Linked DNA regions of Homo sapiens: region 2 is linked to region 1. The links are contacts of gene promoters, found by promoter capture Hi-C in human tissues and cell types (Jung and others, 2019). All regions are on one chromosome and are shown on one strand. The core of a region is centred on a gene start or on the middle of the fragment in contact, and the rest is flanking DNA. Distances in the headings are between cores, read along the strand shown.

Region 1 (3,014 bases), core at 235-2,734:
CGCCTCCCAAAGTGCTAGGATTACAGATGTGAGCCACTGCGCCCAGCCACGTCCACATTAATAAACAAATGCCCATAAAGATTAAAGTCCAAGTAAATATATTAAAAAACGAAATGCTAAAAAAGGCACCTTTAAAACATTTTTGTTAGTTTTTCTTATACATTGTTTTCTTAAAAAAACAGATGTCTATGTGCAAAATTTCATTAATGAGAGGTGTATTTTTTTTTTAAACTACTACAGGGTCTTCACTAATATTAAAGATGCATCCAATGTGTCACAAGAAAAGGAATACATATTTCAAAGCAGCCATATCAACATGATAAAGACATAACACAACCGATATCACCTTCCAGATATGCTTAATAGTCCAGGGATATGCTGTAAGGAGAAACTACCCAAATCCATCATGAATGACATTCACCAACGAATCTTAAACAGAATCGGCTGAAATGCAAAAATCTGCTTACATAGCAAAGCCGCAGCAGAGCAAGCCTAAAACAGGAATACTTCCTTAACAAATACCACTTGGCATTTTTAATGGCTGCAGCAAGATATTTACAAAACTAACGATGCTTTGCAGATTCAGAAAAGGTAACATCCTTTAGATATAAATCCCTTTCATCTGAAACCCTCAGGTCTCTTAACAAATACTAAATTCCTTAGGCTCTGCAACACCTCCGTGTCAGGTAAATTTTTTGTTAGTGATTAAGTGACTTGTTCAAGGTCACAGAATGAACTGGAGGCAAGAAATAAACCCAGGAGGGTGGTCTGCAGCTTTATAATGCACATCACTGCTAGTAAGGATTCTGATAATTTCCAAGGTGGAGTGGCGGTGAAATTAACTTGTCCCACAACTCTAGGATGGAAGGCACTTTTTAGGGGAAAAAAAAAAAATCTTCTATTTGAGGAAGTCATAGTTTTAACTCTGACAAGCTTATAGGGTCTTTAAACTCAAACTTCACTAAAATCAAGTGTGACTGGGGAAGAAGAGAAACTGGGAAACAGTTTTAGGAGCTACAGTAAGGCCTGGGATTGTAGGCAGATTGCAGAAAAAAAAAAAAACCGGAAGCAAGAGGAAAGAGGTCAAAGTCGGGTATAAGTGTCCAAGAGAACGGAAGATTGGTCAAAGCCACCTTTTAAAACCAAAAAAACACACGAAACTCGCTTGGCAATCCTAGGTAGATGGCGTAAAAGACTCAAGGTTGGGCCTTTCCTCTCCACAAGCTGATTCTACCTTTAGGAGTTGTCCCACTCCTCTCCGCGGACAGAGCTTGTCTCCGGGGTAACCAGCAGCTGGTGGAAGGAAAGGCGTTCATCGTTCACAGCGGACGACTTCCCAGAGAACAGGTGCTAGGGCCCAAGACCCGCACTCACCGTGACGCCGGGCGCGCTTCACTAACGCCAGCCTTCTCGCCAAATGCCCATCTCCCAAGAACTCGAGGGAGAATTAGCCTTGGCTACCAGGACGGAAGCCAGCCCAGCTCACCCCCTTTTCCCGATTTGCATTGCGAGGCGACGCGTCGCGTCTCCAGACGTCACGGCAGGGGCGGGGCTTCGCGTGCGCTCCCTTGACTCCTCTCTCTTCCACCGCCCTCCCCTTTTCGGTGAGGGCCGCGGGGCGAGGGATGGTCGAGGGAGGGTCGAGGAGGACGTTATGGGTGGGCGGTGGCGGCAAGGGCGGGGTTTCTCTGAGTCGGGTCAACATAGTTGGCCGGTCCCTTACCCCCCGCACTGCACCCTGCATTTCCGGGTTGCAAGGCGGCGCCTGGGCCTTGTTGTGGAAGAAGCAAGGTTGCTCTTGCGTCCCTTTACTACGTTATTTTCCTCCTCAGATTGGAAATTAGAAAAAAGGGGATTTAACGCCCCTCTATTTCTGGCTAAACATTCTCTGAAGCCAAGCCTTTGGTCAAAGAAAAACAAGTATTATCCTAAAACATATTTTATGTACAATTTTTAACGTCACTTAAAAGGCCCCGGCGAGGCTGGGCACGGTGGCTCACGCCTGTAATCCCAGCGCTTTGGGAGGCCGAGGCGGGCAAATGATGAGGTCAGGAGTTCGAGACCAGCCTGGCCAACATGGTGAAACCCCCGTCTCTATTAAGAATACAAAAAATTAGCTTGGCGTGGTGGCGTGCGCCTGTAATCCTAGCTACTCCAGTGGCTGAGGCAGGAGAATTGCTTAAACCCGGGGAGCGAAGGTTGCAATGAGCCGAGATCGCGCTACTGCACTCCAGCCTGGGCAGCAGAGCAAGACTCCGTCTGGTTGGGCGAAGGCCCCGTGTAATAGAAACGAAATGAGACGTCTGAACTTTCTCGCGAGCTGATCTTTGTACTCTCTTAGAGAAAGGTGATTGGATGCTCCGGTTGCCTGTAAACATAAAATTGACTTGGGTGGAGCTTTAGGCAGTAGTCACTAAGTCCTCAGGAACATTCCAGGTGTCTCAGGGATGGGAAATCTGGCTAGCGAGGTCTAGTAAATGCTTTAAGTGAAAGTGTGTGCCACATGGTACAGTGTACACTGCTCGGGTGATGGGTGCACCAAAATCTCAGAAATGACCACTAAAGAACTTTTCCATGCAACCTGTTCCTCCAAAACTACTGAAATAAAAATTTTTAAAAATAAAAAAGGATAAAATAAAGAAAGTGTGTTCAATGAATTTGTGATGAAGGCCAGGTTGCAGTGGCCCAGGCCTGTAATCCCAGCACTTTGGGAGGCTGAGGCAGGAGGATCCCTTGATCCCAAGAGACAGAGACCAGCTTGAGCAACAAAGGGAGACCCTCATCTCTACAAAACAAAAATTTAAAAATTAGACCGGGAGCGGTAGCTCACGCCTGTAATCCCAGCACTTTGGGAGGCCAAGGTGGGCAGATCACTTGAGGTCAGGAGTTTGAGACCAGCCTGGCCAAAATGGCAAAACCTGGTCTCTACTAAAAATACAAACATTAGCTGGGCATGGTGGCGCGTGCCTGTAATCCCAGCTACTGAGGAGGCTGAGTCAGTGAATCGCTTGAAC
Region 2 (3,014 bases), core at 384-2,883, 1.7 Mb before region 1:
ATCCAGGCTGGAGGTTTTTCTCCCTCAGTCAACTGGACATAGGCAGCATCCCAAGAAGCCATAGTTGTAGAATGAGGGAGAGGAGGCAAAGCAACAGGAGTTGATGTTGGAAGAGTCTGAGCCGCCTGCTCATACAATTTACTTATACCTTCTGAACCTGCCTGGGCTGTTTCTAATACACCATTTCCATTTGATGATAGGTGGCTGCTGTATACATCCAATTTTATGGCTACGTAGGTCAGATGACATCCAGTTCATGATGGGAGCTCAAGCTTCATGGTCAGGCATTCTGCCTCTATCAAGGCCTAGTAGCAAGGCAGAACCTGCTTCTCAGAAGGAGAGTAGTTATCTTCAGAAGAGGTTCTAGATTTACTTTAGAATTCTAGAGGTCTGTACTCTCTCCTGTCAGTGCTTGCCAGAGGCTCCATACAGCATCCCTGTTGGACAAAGTCCCACTGGATCTGTTGGATCACAAGACCCAAGTGGTAGGGCAGCTTTACTGCAGCCTGAACCTTCTGCAGAGTCTTCTCTTATTCTGCTCCTCAATCCACCAGCCTGTCAATTGGGTTGAAATAGCACAAACACAGTATATGTTGCCTTCAAAGTCCAAAATGGCTTACTGTTCCAGGCTGTGTCCCCCAAAATTCATATGTTGAAATCCTAACCCCCAGTGTGATGGTATTCAGAGATGGGGCCTTTGGGAGGTATTAGATCACAAAGGTGGAGCCCTCACGAATGAGATTATTGTCCTTATAAAAGAGACCCCGGAAAGCTACTCCACACCTACTGCAATGTGAGGACACAGCAAGAAGCCTGTTGTCTATGAACCAGGAAGCAGGTCCTTACAAGACACAGAACCTGCCAGGGCCTCAACCTTGGACTTTTTAGCCAACAAAACTGTGAGAAATAAATGCCTTTATTTATAAGTCACCCAGTCTATGGCATTCTGCTATAGCCGCCTGGACAGACTAAGACAGCTGCCAAGTGCCGTGCCTCTTTTGTAGTGATGCAAGATGCAGCAACTCATCTTTCACCCTGGGAGGGCTATTTCAACATGCTCCAGACCCCTGAACCCCCAGAAATACCACTGCTAGTATCCATTCTGCATCAGTCTGGATCCAATCAGGAGAAAGAAGCCACGGAGTAATATGAACTGAGAAAGTTTAATATAAATATTAGATGGCCGGGCGCGGTGGCTCACGCCTATAATCCCAGCACTTTGGGAGGCAGAGGCGGGCGGATCACGAGGTCAGGAGATCGAGACCATCCCGGCTAACACGGTGAAACCCCGTTTCCACTAAACAATCCAAAAAAATTAGCCAGGTATGGTGGCGGGCGCCTGTAGTCCCAGCTACTCGGGAGGCTGAGGCAGGAGAACGGTGTGAACCTGGGAGGCGGAGCTTGCAGTGAACCAAGATCGCGCCACTGGAGCTAAATAACCCGAGTCTCACAGTGCATCTGATTGCTACGCGAACACGTGCGCACCACCAGGCCTTGCCTTGGGGACTGGAACAGGTGCAGGTGGGATTCCCATCAAAGGCTCTTCTCTCAGTCCTGAAAAACAATATACCGGGGGCCGGGGGCCGGGGGCCGGGGCGGGGCACGGCAGCCCTACCCTGGGGGAGGCGCGGCCGGGCCAAGAAAACCAGCGAAGGCCCGGCCCCCCAGCAGAGGCCGGACCATGGTTGACCAGTTGCGGGAGCGCACCACCATGGCCGACCCGCTGCGGGAGCGCACCGAGCTGTTGCTGGCCGACTACCTGGGGTACTGCGCCCGGGAACCCGGCACCCCCGAGCCGGCGCCATCCACGCCCGAGGCCGCCGTGCTGCGCTCCGCGGCCGCCAGGTTACGGCAGATTCACCGGTCCTTTTTCTCCGCCTACCTCGGCTACCCCGGGAACCGCTTCGAGCTGGTGGCGCTGATGGCGGATTCCGTGCTCTCCGACAGCCCCGGCCCCACCTGGGGCAGAGTGGTGACGCTCGTGACCTTCGCAGGGACGCTGCTGGAGAGAGGGCCGCTGGTGACCGCCCGGTGGAAGAAGTGGGGCTTCCAGCCGCGGCTAAAGGAGCAGGAGGGCGACGTCGCCCGGGACTGCCAGCGCCTGGTGGCCTTGCTGAGCTCGCGGCTCATGGGGCAGCACCGCGCCTGGCTGCAGGCTCAGGGCGGCTGGGTGAGCACGCGGCGGACACCGGGACACGGGGCGGGACGGGCAGCCGGGAAGCGCCCACGAGGCTGGCACGGTGAGGAACCCACCGCGCCAGGCCCCTGGAACGAGGTTTCGTGAAAGCAGAAAGGCTCGTTTCAGCGGGCCTGGAACGTTCGCTGTGAAGTCTGGGGTTTCTCCTCCCCTGGCAGAAAGGCCGGCAGAAATCGGCCTTCTTAGACGGCCGTGAACCGTTCCGAAGCAGCTGCGCAGGCTTAGGTCTGCTCACTTGGACCTTGCCCTGGCCTTAGCCGTCGGGGACTTTTAGGGGGGCACCCACGTTAGGTCTGAACGTTTTGCTCCTATAGAAATCCCCAACCAATGAAGTCAGCAATGGCGGGGCCCCAGCCAGGTGGGGTGTTTTTCTCCTTCGCCTATTAAATGCGCCTTTGGAGAGACTCAGACCCATTGATCACAACCCCCTACGCCTCTCAGCCTGGCCAGAGAGGTTGTGGAGTGTGGTGGTCGCCCAGTGGTGGCGCTGACCCAAGGTTCCTTAATTTCTAGTCCTCTGCACCCAGTCCTCGGTGAGAACGTTCTAGGCCCCTGGCTTTCAGCTGCAAGCCTTCATCTCTGTGGTCAAGGTTAGAGGGACAGGCCCTTGCCCTGCAGCTGATGATCAAGGAAAGCCACCTGGTGATGAGCCCACTGCATGCCTCTGGGGGCTCTGAGCTAGACCCCATTTCTTTCCCCACCACCTTATTGGCGTTGATTCAATGACTGAAGTGGCCCATGTTATCGGATACCTATAGCCAAACTATTAAAACCAGCAAGTTTTTTGATCCGAAATGTAGCCTCCTGGGGGCAGTTT

Evidence for each region. Contacts are between HindIII fragments. The study calls those that stand out against the background at their distance.
Region 2: the fragment with the promoter of BCL2L10 here is called in contact with the fragment with the promoter of USP8 in region 1 in 1 of the 25 tissues and cell types used here (small bowel).

The regions. Positions count from the first base shown.
Region 1 is chr15:50,422,875-50,425,888 of GRCh38, reverse strand. USP8 (ubiquitin specific peptidase 8) reads right to left here and starts at 1,484. Exons shown (of 20, transcript NM_005154.5): 1 at 1,375-1,484. RefSeq lists enhancers at 1,237-1,626, 1,665-2,661 and a silencer at 1,737-1,786. The HindIII fragment of the contact is 18,008 bases long and covers 1-3,014 here.
Region 2 is chr15:52,111,394-52,114,407 of GRCh38, reverse strand. It overlaps BCL2L10 (BCL2 like 10), which reads left to right and starts at 1,633. Exons shown (of 2, transcript NM_020396.4): 1 at 1,633-2,170. The coding sequence starts at 1,682. RefSeq lists a silencer at 1,627-1,786. The HindIII fragment of the contact is 13,214 bases long and covers 1-3,014 here.